3 separate regions of the Homo sapiens genome follow, and regions 1 and 3 are each linked to region 2. The links are contacts of gene promoters, found by promoter capture Hi-C in human tissues and cell types (Jung and others, 2019). All regions are on one chromosome and are shown on one strand. Each heading gives the region's core, a stretch centred on a gene start or on the middle of the fragment in contact. The rest is flanking DNA. Distances are from core to core; before and after follow the strand shown. Region 1 has its middle 52 kb from the start of SMARCA5-AS1. Region 2 holds the start of FREM3 (FRAS1 related extracellular matrix 3). Region 3 overlaps SMARCA5 (SNF2 related chromatin remodeling ATPase 5).

Region 1 (4,820 bases), core at 1,113-3,612, 130 kb before region 2:
ATATTTATCATTTTCTAAAATTATGTTTTATATTCTAAAATAATTTTTATGTCAGGCAATTCTGTCTTTCTATACCTTTCTATACAATTCTGTCTTTCTATAAATATTCTTCCAGGCTGTATTTCACTTTGTGCCTTGTGTTTTCACCTAAATGTTGAGGGAAGAAAATTATTTTTTGGCAAATAACCATTTTCCTCCAGGTTTTTAATCTAAAGGTGGTTATATGCTAAAGACAATATGATATTAAGAAAGCAGAATGTGTCATGTTCTTACTCAAATGCTAAACCTTTTCTTAATGGAAAGAAAATATATAAACTAAATATGTTGTTTCTGAGACCTGAAGATTATAACTTTTTAAATGTATTTCAGTCTAAAAGGTTAGGATCCCATGTATAAACATGGCAGTGCATAAGACACAACTGAGAGGCGAACTGCTATACTATACAGAATTGTTAGCATTTCTTGTGGCTCGTGTATGTTTCAGAAAAAGATCAGTAAGTTACCACACTTTTCTTGCAAAATTGTATATAAATTAACCTGATATCCTTTTATACCAAATCGTGGTTACTAAATATTGCTATTCTGTAAAAGTGCCTAAGAATCATTATTTTCAACACTAACACCCCGGAAACAGTAAGAGAAACCTGAAAGTGGTAGGAAAGAATGAAAGGCCTTATTAGTCATCTAAATTATAAGTTTTCTTTTATGTTGTTAATATGGACATGGTAATTATAACTCAGTATCTTCTTGGGGTCCCTGACTCATTGTTCTTCACTCACTCTTATTAGGACCTCTGGAAGATATAATTTATCCTATTTAAGTGAGCAGGATTTTCCCCTCTAGACATACTTTATAAGCATTTTCTCATTAGAAAACCACATGTGCTATAACAGTAGTTTGATTTGCTCTTTACAATATCAACAGATACTACTTGTTTCTGTTTGTTTTTTGTTTTTGTAGAGACAGGGTTTCATCATGGTGATCAGGCTTGTCTCGAACTCCTGACCTCGTGATCCACCCACCTTGGCCTCCCACAGTGCTGGGATTACAGGTGTGAGCCACCATGCTCAGCCTGTTTTTTTTTTTTTTTATTTCAATAGTTTTGGAGGAACAGGTGCTGGTTGGTTGGATGAAAAAGTTCTTTGGTGATGATTTCTGAGATTTTTGTGCACCTGTCACCCAAGCAGTGTACACTGTACCCAATGTGTACTCTTTTATCCCTCACCACCCCCGCAACCCTTCCCCCAAGTCCCCAGAGTCCATTATGTCACTCTTATATATGCCTTTGCATCCTCGTAGCTTAGCTCTCATTTACAACATACGAACATACGATGTTTGTTTTTCCATTCCTGAGTTACTTCACTTAGAATTATGGTCTCTTTCCAGGTTGCTGTGAATGCCATTATTTCATTCCTTTTTATGGCTGAGTAGCATTCCATGGTATCTATATACCACATTTTCTTTATCCACTCATTGGTTGATGGGCATTTAGGCTAGTTCCATATTTTTGCAGTTGTGAATTGTGCTGCTATAAACATGCATGTGCAAGTGTCTTTTTCATATAATGATTTCTTTTCCTCTAAGTAGATACCCAAGACTGGGATTGCTGGATCAAACAGCAGTTCTACTTTTCACCACATCCACACCAACATCTGTTATTTTTTGATTTTTTAATTATGGCCATTCTTGTGGGAGTAAGGTGGTATCGCATTGTGGTTTTGATTTGCATTTGCCTGATCATTAGTGATGCTGAACAATTTTTCCGATGTTGGCCATTTGCATGTCTTCTTTTGAGAATTGTCTATTCATATCCTTAGTCCACTCTTTGATAGGAGTATTTGTCTTTTTTCCCTTGGGGCTGTCTGTTTACTCTGCTATTTCTTTTGCTGTGCAGAAGTTTTTTAGTTTAATTAGGTCCTGCCTATTTATCTTTCTATTTGTTGCATTTGCTTTTGGGATCTTGGCTTAAGCCAATGTCTAGAAGAGTTTTTCGATGTATTTTCTAGAATTTTTATGATTTCAGGTCTTAGATTTAAGTTCTTTTTTTTTTCTTGAGATGGAGTCTCGCTCTGTCACCCAGGCTGGAGTGCAGTGGCGCGATCTCTGCTCGCTGCAAGCTCCACCTCCCAGATTCATGCCATTCTCCTGCCTCAGCCTCCCTAGTAGCTGGGACTACAGGCACCTGCCACCATGCCCAGCTAATTTTTTGGATTTTTTAGTAGAGACGGGGTTTCACTGTGTTAGCCAGGATGGTCTCGATCTCCTGACCTCGTGATCCGCCTGCCTTGGCCTCCCAAAGTGCTGGGATTACAGGCGTGAGACACCACAGCTGGCCAGATTTAAGTTCTTGATCAATCTTGAGTTAATTTTTGCATAAGGTGAGAGATAAGGATCCAGTTTCATTCTCCTACTTGTGGCTTGCTAATTATCCTAGCACCATTTGTTGAATAGGGTGTCCTTTCCCCACTTTATGTTTTTGTTTGCTTTGTCGAAGATCAGTTGGCTGTAAGTATTTGGCTTTATTTCTGGGTTCTCTATTCCATTCCACTGGTCTATGAGCCTATTTTTATACCACTACCATGCTGTTTTGGTAACTATAGCCTTGTACTATAGTTTGAAATCAGGTAATGTGATACCTCCAGATCTGTTCTTTTTGCTTAGTCTTGCTTTGGCTATGTGGGCTCTTTTTTGGTTCCATATGAATTTTAGGATTGTTTTTTGTAGTTCTGTGAAGAATGATGATGGTATTTCTATGGGAATTGCATTGAATTTGTAAATTGCTTTCGGCAGTATGGTTATTTTCACAATATTGATTCTTCAAATCCATGAGCATGGAATGTGTTTCCATTTGTTTGTATCATCCACAATTTCTTTTAGCAGTGTTTTGTAGTTTTTCCTCGTAGAGATCTTTCATCTCCTTGGTAGGTATATTCCTAAGTATTTTATTTTATTTTTTTTGTGGCTGTTGTAAAGGGGGTTGAGTTCTTGATTTGATTCTCAGCTTGGTCATTGTTGGTGTATAGCAGTGGTACTGATTTGTGTGTATTGATTTTCTATCCTGAAACTTTACTGAATTCATTGATCAGATCTAGGAGGTTTCTGCATGAGTCTTTAGGATTTTTTAAGTATATGATCATATCATTGGTGAACAGTGACAGCTTGACTTCCTCTTTACCAATTTGGATGCCCTTTATTTATTTCTCTTGTCTGATTCCTCTGGCTAGACTTACAGTACTATGTTGAATAGAAATGGTGAAAGTAGGCATCTTTGTCTTGTTCCAGTTCTCAGGCGGAATGATTTCAACTTTTCCCCTTTCAGTATAATGTTGGCTATGGGTTTATAATAGATGGCTTTTATTACCTTGAGCTATGTCCCTTTCATGCCGATTTTGCTGAGGGTTTTGATCATAAAGGGATGCTGGGTTTTGTCAAATGCTTTTTCTGCATCTGTTGAGATGATCACATAATTTTTGTTTTTAATTCTCATAACTTGTTTTTGATCTTACAGGCTTATAGATGGAAGGAACTTTCCTTGAGTCTCAGATTGGACCTTTTGGACCTTTTTTTTTTTTTTTTTTTTTTTCTTTTGAGTTAAGGGTCTCACTTGGTCACCCAGGCTGGAGTGCAGTGGCATGATCTCAGCTCATTGAAGCCTCTGCCTCCCAGGTTCAAGTGATTCTCTTGCCTCAGCCTCTCAAGTAGCTGCAATTACAGGTGTGTGCCACCACACCTCACTAATTTTTATATTTTTAGTAGAGACAGATTTCACCATGTTGCCCAGGCTGGTCTCGAACTCCTGACCTCAAGTGATCTGCCCACCTTGGCTTCTCAAAGTGCTGGAATTACAGGTGTGAGCCACCATGCTCAGTCTCAGATTGGACTTTTGAGCTGATGCTTGGAATGAGTTAAAATTTTGGGGGACTATTGGGAAGGGATGATTCTTTTTTGCAGTGTGAGAAGATCATTAGATTTGGGAGGGAAGGGGTAGAATGATATAGTTTGGGTATTTGTTCCCTCCAAATCTCATGTTTAAATTTGGTCCCCAGTGCTGAAGGCAGGGCTTGGCTGGAGGTGTCTGGGTTGTGAGGTGGATACCTCAAGAATGGCTTGGTGCATTTCTTACAGAATGAATGAGTTCTTGTTCTGTTTGTTCACAGGAGAACTTGTTGTTTAAAAGAGTGTGGCACCTTCATCCCCCTTTTTCCTTTCTTGCCATGTGACACACCAGCTCCCCTTCACCTTCTGCCATGATTGAAAGCTTCCTGAAGCCTCACCAGAAACAGATGCTGGTGCCATGCTTCCTGTACAGCCTGCAGAATTGTGAGCCAAATAAACTTTTCTTTATAAATTACCCAGCCTCAGGTGTTCCTTTATAGCAACACAAATGGACTAAGACAGCAGTTTTCAAAGCTTTACACATTTGGCTGTATGTCTTTTTTCTCTTCTACAGCTGTCTAACCTGCTTCTTATTTGCCCCAAAGGAGGATATAGGGAAACTTTGGGCTCATGTTAATGCTCATAGGTAGATGTCAGCAGTGATACTTCTGGATCAGGTGAGGCTATCCATTTGACTTTTACACTTGAGCCCATCAGACAGCTTTACTACTGTATTAGTCCATTCTCATGCTACTAATGAAGACATACCTGAGACCGGGTAATTTATGAAGGAAGGGGTTTAATGGACTCACGGTTCCACATGTCTGGGAAGGCCTGACAATCATGGCGGAAGGCTAATGAGGAGCAAATTCATGTCTTACATGGCAACAGGCAAGAGAATTTGTGCAAGGGAACTCCCGTTTATAAAACCACCAGATCTTGTA
Region 2 (4,470 bases), core at 569-3,068:
CTGAGTGGGAGGAACCAGGGGCCAACTCCCACTGAGGCTCTTCCTCATTTCCTTTTAGGGGCTGGTTCTCCAGCACAAAGTGGATGGTTGAGTCCTCAGAGTCAATATCAGTAGCACTCAGTACAAAGGGAGAGATCTGGACCACCTGCCCTTCAGTGAGTGAGAGTCCTGTGTTAGTATTGACCATTGGTGGTTCATCATCCACAGGTAGGATGGTGAGGGGAAAGAGGAAGTCCACTTGGTGGTGCCCGTCCTCCATCCGGAAGATGATATTGTCACTGTAGGTGTTGCTGCCATCATGCTGATACACCACTCGCCCTGCTGCCAGGTCCGCTGGTGTGAAATACTTGCACCCAGCAGGTGCCCCAAACACCACCAGCTGCCCATGTCTCAAGCCCCTGACTGCAGCCATTTTCACCTCTTCCAGGTTATCTTTATCACTGATAGGAATGCTGTGGGTGCTGGACAAGGGCCTTGACTGACCTTCAAAAAGCACAAGTCCCCTGTTATGGCTAGCCACTGGGACCAGAGTATTCATGGATTTCACTGTCACCATGAAGGCAAAGGGGTCTGAGGCGGCGCCGTCTCCGTCCACCACCTCCAGCTCCAGCTGAAAGAGGCGCTCCCCATGGGAGTTCTCTGCAGGGGGCTGATAGGCAATCTTCAGCTCCCTCAGCTCCTGCTGGGTGAAGAAGGAGACTGGAAGCCCTAGAGGGTCGTCGGTGCTGACCACGTAGCCCTGTTGCCCCGGGTGCCCTGGTGGGTGAGTGGGGGCGTTCAGAATGTTGAACACCAGGTCACCAGGGTCTGACTCGACGTCCTCCGCGGCCAGTGCGTCAGGCGTCAGGGCTGTCAGCACCAGTGGATCCACCTCCATCATCATCGTGGCCATGAAGCTGGGCCTGGGCGGTGTGTTCTCGGCTCCGCCGCGGATCCTCACGAGCAGCTGGAAGTGCTCGCGGACCAGCACACCCGCGGACCCAGCGTCTTGGCCCTCAGGCCCCAGCAGCTCCACCATCATGGGCACGTAGTCACGGTTGGGCGAGGAGGTGGCTGTGTGCTGATAGCGCACCCCAGCACGGAGGAAAGCCTCACAGTCTACGCCCTTGCCCCTGGGGAGAGGGGCCCCCACCGCGTCCACCAAGCGCCCGTACTTGGGCAGGGGGCCGTCCTCGTGAGGAAGTGGGGTAAGCCGGCACCTGCGGGTGGCCGTGGCTCCAGACTTCAGGGAGGCGAAGTCCAGCACTCTCCTGTCTATGGCGCGGCTCCAGCTTCGCAGCTTCTCCACTACCAAAGGCCTGTTACGCGTCACCAGCTCCAGCTGGGAGAAGACCAAGTCCACCGCCAGCGTGAAGGGCAGCACCAGAGTGTGAGTCGGGGCGTCGTAGCGCAGCTGCAGCAGCACCCGGGCGCGTCCGGGGCTGTGGGAGCCGAAGTGAGTGTACTGGACTTGGCGGGGCCCGAAGGTGCAGGGGAAGCGGCGCGGGGAGAGCGCGCCCTTGAGCCGCGGCAGGGCGTCCAGTACCGTGACTTCGCACCGGTCCCCCGGCTGCACTCCAATCACCAGATCCCGGAGCGGGTCGAGCCAAAGGGAACGACCCAGGGGCACCCGGAGTCCAGGGTTGGCAATCAGCACGCTGGGGCCGTCGGGGCGAGTGCCGTCAAGCGCACCCCGGGCGGGCAGGTAAAGCGCCGGGTCGGGCTCGGTCCCAAGTGAGGATGCCCGTCCCTGCAGCGCGGGGCGACTCAAGAGCAGGCAGGCGAGCGCCACAAGGAGCTGCCGGGGCGTCCCAGTCGGGTGCCGAGAAGCCCCCGCCATGGCCACGGATGGCTCCTGGCGTTGGGATTCCCGGGGTGGGGTGCCCTGTGCAAAGAGGGATCTGCTGAGCGGCAGGTGCAGGCAGTGGAAGCAGTAGCTGCTGTCCAGTCGGTAGCCGACTTGCGGATCCAGCAAGAGCCAGCGGCTGCGCTTCGGCTGCTGCAGGTAACGGCAGCGGGGGAAGGGGCTCTGCCCACTTCCTGCTCAGCCCCGGTCGCAAGTCTCTCTCTGCTGGCTTCTGGGGACCCCAGATACGCGCCCAGCGCGGCGAGACTTAGCGAGGGTGCAGCGCTGTCCCCTCCGCTCCTGGGCGCTTCACCCAGCCTACCTTACACACCTTCTCGCCGGGAGCCGTGGCCGCCGCACTGCTGCCCGCGCTGCCAGACTCCGACCAGCTGTCTGGATACTCTCTTCCCCAGGTGCCACAAAGGGATTGTCCCTCAGGGTTGGGAGAGAGACGGTGACTGTACTCGGGTCAGTCCTGCGTCTGTGAGATTGAGCTCCTGTTGTCCATTCATCCAGGGATTGGTGTTTCTGAAAAGGGGGAGAGACACCATTCCTCTTCCTTACCGCTGACAGGAGTGTATCTTCTAGCCAAAAACTGAGTCTCACTTCGGACATAAAAGAAGCTGGTGGGAGCTATTTTGCAAATAGGATTTTCTAGCTGTCTGTCTGATGAAGCAGCTTATTCAGGATCTTGTAATTCGGTGCTTCCAAACAACCCTGACGTTTTTCTTCTGCTCAGGTTTTGAAAAAGAAAATCAGCACCCAAACTTACTTGAACAGCTTGTAATCTGGGTTTTTTTTTTTTTTTTTTTTTTTGTCATTGGGTCTCACATAACAAAATCAGGTGTGCGGCTCGGCTTCCTTTCGTTTTCTTAGAATGTGGTTTCCATATCTGATCAACAATGACTTGCCTGTTAGTTTATTAGACATGCTGTTTTCTAATTACTTTCTTCGTAGACAGTAGCCAGAGGGGAGGATGTCAAAGGAAACAGTAGCAGAATACTTGGATCAATTTCTGTGGCTCAATCATTTAACACCTGGAATCAGTCTCTTCATGGCTTTCAGATGAAGGTGACTATGGATGTAGTGTTAGGTACTTAACAGAATCCTATTAATTTTTTAAGTTTTAAAATAGCCAATTTAGTTACAGTGCAGAGTAATCTTTTTCTATAAATAAAGTAGTAGTAATAGTAACGTGCTTCCTTATAAAATTAATGTGAATGTGAGAGACTTTTTGATGACAGTAAAAATAGATGTCTACAAACTATATTGATAGAAATGGCTTCAAGGGGGAATAGAAATCTTTAAATGTTATCCCCATGTTATTCTTTTAGTTTTTTACCGTGTTACAAATGCCTGTTTTATTCACAGCAGCAACGGCATCAGCTGATTTTCAGGGCAAGAATAATCTGCTAGTGACTTGAAAGATTTAATTTTCTCTCTAAACATTTAATTTAATCATCCAGTGAAATGCTATGGGTCTATACAATTCACTTTAGTTGAATGTTAGTGTGCCCCATTAGCACACAGATTTGTTCATATAACAGAATTTTGAGATAATAAGTTTGAATCAATATGTGTTTAGCCTAATGATACAGTATTAGTTCAGTGTATCTGGAAAAATATTATTTAAAAATATATTTCTAATTGAAACACAGGTAAAGTTTCATTGTAAATGAGTCATTATATTATATTTTATAAAGCTGCTGCCTTGTCCAAAGGATGGGTTTTTAATGGTAGAACTTTTATTAGTTTGCATATATTAAAGTTACCAAATGAATATTCCTATAGGAGTGCAGTTTTGGTTCTTTTTCAAGCACACTCACTCACTTTGGGACAAGTACCTTTTTTTCTATGCTATTTTCACTGGAAGTAGAGATGGATGTGGGCAGCTGAGATAACAGAAAGCTGAACTACTATGTTTATATTTTTGTCCTCTGACCCTCCCTCTTCAGCATATATTCCCTTCACCTCTTTTTCACCATTAAATGTCTTAAAAGAGTTTTTTATTTCATTACTGTCTCCATTTCTTCACCTCTCACTCATTGTCTCTTTAGGGCACTCCCAGTCTGGTTTCCACCTTAGACACACCAAAAAAACTTTCACTAAGGTCATTAGTAACTTCCATCTGGCAAACTCCTATAACTATCTCTCATATTGTTAATGTTGCCACACCTTTCTGGTTTCTTTTCTACCTCCCAGTCTAAGTCTCATTTCTTCAGGAAGCATTTTTCAAATGCTCTTCAAACCATGTTGCAAAATCTCTGTAGTTATCTATTCATGTACAGGTCGATTAGTGTCTGTCTTCCCTGTTTGGCTTTAAGCTACAGGAGAGCAGGGAGTATGTAATGTTCACCATTGATACTTAGTGCTTATGCCAAGGACTGGCACATAGCAGGTATGTAATAAGTATTTGTTGATTGATTGATTGATTGAATGAATGAATAAATAGAAAAATGAAAGGGAATCAGAAGTAGTGATCGACATACTTTGCAGTTTAGGTGTCAGGCAGGAGAAACCAGTGCAAGCGTAGGATGACTTCTTTCGTCTTTCCTCAGAATATGCCAGTTCATTAGAGGTCAGTGGAAGCTCTGTTTAGAAAATTCAAATTTGATTTCTAGCCAAATATTTATATTACCCAAATT
Region 3 (4,769 bases), core at 1,554-4,053, 160 kb before region 2:
ACCAAGTTGGATTGACACAACCTGTTTTTGTTTGAAAATCGTCTTAGAAGATTCTTGTTACTAAGCATCCATTGAGTCAAGCTTGCAGCCAGTAGAGATGACTTGTATTGCAAATACAGTAAACTTTAGTTTTGTCATTAAAAAGATGGATTTGGGCTCAGGACAGTTGAGGTTTGAATAATGAGTCTGCCAGTTAGCAGTTCTCTCTGGTTACATGAACCCATTTCCTCATCTGTTAAGTGGGGATAAAAATAACTACACTTAAGGATTTTAAAGGATTAAAGGGGATAATGTATATAAAATATCTGACATTCAGTGTGGTGGTTAATGATTTATATGTACTAACTACTCTTGATTACTGTGGGGAAAACTGAAGAAATAAAAATCAAAGAGCCTGATTTTATTCTTTTTTCTTGTCTGCAATTTACTGAGTACCCACCAGATGCTAGGCACCGTTCTTGGTGCTGAGAATTCAGTGGTAAATGGAACAAACAAGTATTCTTACTTTCAAAGAGTTTACAATTTAGTTGGGAGGGAGAGATGAAGTAAACAAGGGTATAAGTAGGAGTAGGGGGTGAGAGTGGGATTTTATTTTGGATCAATTGAAGGAAACTTAAGTTCTCATTCCAGATCAGCTTTTAAGGATGACATAATTTATGTTTTCATGAAGCCTACTATAAAGTTGATGATGGGAAATATAAAATTCAAGAAAAGGGGTGGGAAACTTAATAATTTCAAGTGTGCATTGGTTTCCTTTGTAACTGCATTTGTGAGCATGTATTTACTATCTGTCTATAAAGCTGAAAGGCATACTGTTACATTGTTTACTGATTATGTAGGTATCTTGATTTTGTCAGTCTCTGATGTCCATGTAAGAGAGTATTGTACATGTCTTTGGTATCCCTAATGCTATTCATAGTGTTAGCCATATGTCTGCATACCTGAAGACAATAAATTATTGCTTATTTTTACAAATCGTTTCCCTTAATAAAGTGTTTACTTTGTGCCAGGCAGTGTGCTATATACTTAACATTTCATTTTCTCCTTTAGTCTTCATGCCAACTTGAGATGTTAGCATCAGAGATAAAGGCTTTTGAGAGGTTAAATTACTTGTTCATTGTACATACAGCTGGGAAGTGACTCAAGGGGGATCAAGAACTTTGTTAACTCTTAAGTGTTTAATTAGAAAAGTCTCTGGGGACTTCTCGAGGCTGCCACCCCGTGATGTTATCTCATGGGTGATATAATGGCTAATGTTTTATTTTTCTTCACACATCCATGTGTTTTGAAATACACCTGCCGTGTGTTTCTTGTTCTCAGTTATTTTCATCCATGAAACACTTTTTTTTTTTTTGAGATGGAGTTTTGTTCTTGTTACTCAGGCTGGAGTGCAATGGCACGATCTCGGCTCACTGCAACCTCCGCTTCCTGGGTTCAAGCAATTCTGCTGCCTCAGCCTCCTGAGTAGCTGGATTTACAGATGCCCGCCACCACACCTGGCTAATTTTTTTGTATTTTTAGTAGAGACAGGGTTTCACTTTGTTGGCCAGGCTGGTCTTGAACTCCTGACCTCAGGCGATCCACCCACCTCAGCCTCCCAAAGTGCTGGATTACAGGTATGAGCCACCACGCCTGTCCAAAACACTTTTTTTAAAGATAAAAAAGACCTTAATTGATTCATAATTAATTTAGAAATCTTGAGGTTTTTTTACTTCATATTTACTGTGGCAATTTTTGGAGCAAACCTTCAGGCTAATAGCTTTCTTGTGCCGTTTGTAGACATGTTAGTCAAACAGCAAGCCTTAAGTGCATACCTTTGTGTTACTGTTTTTTATTTGAGGGACATAATTAAAAACGAGAGTACACAAGCACTTTACATCTGAAGGTTCCGGAACCTTCCTGCCCAACTTGGAAGTAGTTTGTATAAGCATAAGAACATTTTGGTAGCAATGGTAGCATCCAATCCAAGGAAACATACCTTGTGGATATCTCCTCACTTACAAAGTCATGGATGTTTGGCTGTATATCCTATTATGGGTCCCAAACCATGATACAAGTATTTAAAGAAGTTGTTGAAAACTTGGATCTTTTTCCACTTACTTACAAGTTGGTTGGCATATAAAAATCAAAGCTTTGTTTAGGTGTATGTGAGTGACCCTTGAGGAGGGTGAAAACAAGTCTTTCTGGGTTTTTGTTTGTTTTTTTATACCTGTATTTTTGAAAAATTACAAGGTTGTCCAAACTCCTGCCAACTGAAAATATTTATTAATTTATTAATGGTGAGTTTCTTCGATGATCCAGATACATTTTCTCACCAGGTGTGGTAGTGCATGCCTTTAGTCCTAGCTACTTGGGAAGCTGAGACAGGAGAATGGCTTGAGCAGGGAGTTGAAGGCTGCAGTGACTATGGTCCTGTCATTGCACTCCAGCCTAAGCAACAGAGCAAGACTCCATCTCAAAAAAATAAACGAATAAAATAAGTTTTTAGGAGTTTCAGTTCTTCTGGAAGTTTTCTTTAAAAAGAAACTGATGTTACATATTTCAGTTCTGTGTAAAGTTTGGCCTAGGTGAAGGATTTTTTACTTTACTTTTCTAAGGAGAAAAGCTGATTTGGGGAGTATTAGTTAATAACACCTTTCTGCTCATCAGAAACTTGTGTGTATAATGCTTCCATCTGTTGAAACTTGTAGGTTTTTGAAAATTTTTCATATGCAGCTTTCACAAAAGATTATATTTCGTTGGCACAGTATACAGCAGGTTTCATTATATAATACATAAGGTTTAGGAATGTTTTGTAGCTTACCAACTGAAAATTTGGCATTAAATTTAGTGCAAAAATCAAAATTATTAGATGTGAATAAACAGTAAACAGAAATGATTGACATTTGAGATAAAATTATAAAGCATTAAACCTTACATTTAAAGTTTCAAGTTTCCAGTAAAATAAAGTCTGTTCAGTTAACATTATACAACACAATCTTTTTTCAGGGAGGCTTGTGGATCAGAATCTGAACAAAATTGGGAAAGATGAAATGCTTCAAATGATTAGACATGGAGCAACACATGTGTTTGCTTCAAAGGAAAGTGAGATCACTGATGAAGATATCGATGGTATTTTGGAAAGAGGTGCAAAGAAGGTGAGATGTAGATTAAATAATGCTTTTAATATAGAATGTTTTAGACCAGAAACAGGAAATATTTGTTACATTGATGATAAATAATTTTATTTCCTTAAAGAGAAGCTTTTGTGTACGTGAAGTTAATTTATTTTGACTGCAGTTTTCATGCTTTCTTTGCTGTGAATCTAAGAAGCTGATTGTTTTGTTCTCTAGACTGCAGAGATGAATGAAAAGCTCTCCAAGATGGGCGAAAGTTCACTTAGAAACTTTACAATGGATACAGAGTCAAGTGTTTATAACTTCGAAGGAGAAGACTATAGAGAAAAACAAAAGGTAATTTAGAAATAGGTTTGGGTTACATGAAAGCTTTATTTTACTGGAAACTTGGAATTTTAAGTGTTACTGTAATGTCTTATAATTTTGCTTAAAACAGTAGTCATTTTTGCTTATTCACATCTGAATATTTTCATCATTATGTAAAATTTAATGCCAGTTTTTCAGTTGGTAAGCTCTGAAATATTTTTAAAGTTTTTGTAATGAAGTTTGTGGTATATGTTTACAGTGAAATATATTCTTGTATGGGATGAATAGTAATTTGGGATGGTAACCTGATTCATTTTATTTTAAACAGCAGAATTGGCTGGTAATAAAGGGAAAAATTTCTTAACTTCATAAGTAATACTTGGTAATATAGAGATAAATTGAAAAATACCCAGAGATTAGAAGAAAAAAATAATTCTACCCAGTGTTTTTCTTGTTAATATTTAGGTCTATATCTTCAGAATTTTTTGTAGGCTAATTATGTGTCTACATTTTTCTCCTAGTTTAGATTTATACCAAACATTCTGTAGCATTTCTCCCTCATTTAACAGTTGTTCCTTTAAGCAAGAAATACTGAATGCTTACTCTGTTGACTAGACACTGTCTCGTGTTAATTATATACATAATATTGAGCAAAGTATCATAGTCTCCACCCTCATAGAGCTTATAGCCCAGGATTTTGTGAATATCTTTACATTTACAAACATCCTTCTTGATGATGATTTGTTACTGTGTATAATAAAAGTTGGTGATTTGAGTTGTTTCCCATGTGCTAGATTGCATTCACAGAGTGGATTGAACCACCTAAACGAGAAAGAAAAGCCAACTATGCCGTTGATGCATATTTCAGGGAAGCTCTTCGTGTTAGTGAACCTAAAGCACCCAAGGTGAGTTGACTGACACAGCATAAAAATATCTAAAAATTTTGAAAATGTAATTTTTTTCATATATTCTTGCAAAAAGATTGATAATTAGATTTTGTGTTTCTTTTTTTTTTTTTTTTTTGAGACAGAGTCTCACTCTGTTACCAGGAGTTCAGTGGTGCGATCTCAGCTCACTGCAACCTCCGCCTCCCGGGTTCAAGCAATTCTCCTGCCTCACCCTTCCGAGTAGCTGGGACTACAGGCACCCACCACCACCCCTGGCTAATTTTTGTAATTTTAGTAGTGATGGGGTTTCACCATGTTGGCCAGGATGGTCTTGATCTCTTGACCTCATGATCCGCCCACCTTGGTCTCCCAAAGTATTGGGATTACAGGCGTGAGCCACTGCCTCTTTCCTACATTTTGCATTTCTTTAGAGTGTACTCTCTTCTGTTTTTAGTTAACA

The links. Contacts are between HindIII fragments. The study calls those that stand out against the background at their distance.
Region 1: a contact is called between a fragment that was not itself captured here and the fragment with the promoter of FREM3 in region 2, in 1 of the 25 tissues and cell types used here (mesendoderm cells).
Region 3: a fragment that was not itself captured here is called in contact with the fragment with the promoter of FREM3 in region 2 in 1 of the 25 tissues and cell types used here (H1 embryonic stem cells).

Annotation. Positions count from the first base shown.
Region 1 is chr4:143,563,933-143,568,752 of GRCh38, forward strand. No RefSeq gene overlaps it. Among named protein-coding and RNA genes, the nearest start is that of SMARCA5-AS1, 52 kb to the left of the region's middle. The HindIII fragment of the contact is 3,943 bases long and covers 392-4,334 here.
Region 2 is chr4:143,698,857-143,703,326 of GRCh38, forward strand. FREM3 (FRAS1 related extracellular matrix 3) reads right to left here and starts at 1,819. Exons shown (of 8, transcript NM_001168235.2): 1 at 1-1,819. The coding sequence starts at 1,819. RefSeq lists an enhancer at 1,186-1,843. The HindIII fragment of the contact is 26,872 bases long and covers 1-4,470 here.
Region 3 is chr4:143,540,521-143,545,289 of GRCh38, forward strand. SMARCA5 (SNF2 related chromatin remodeling ATPase 5) reads left to right here. Exons shown (of 24, transcript NM_003601.4): 15 at 2,989-3,137; 16 at 3,333-3,452; 17 at 4,217-4,327. Among named protein-coding and RNA genes, the nearest start is that of SMARCA5-AS1, 28 kb to the left of the region's middle. The HindIII fragment of the contact is 3,394 bases long and covers 1,107-4,500 here.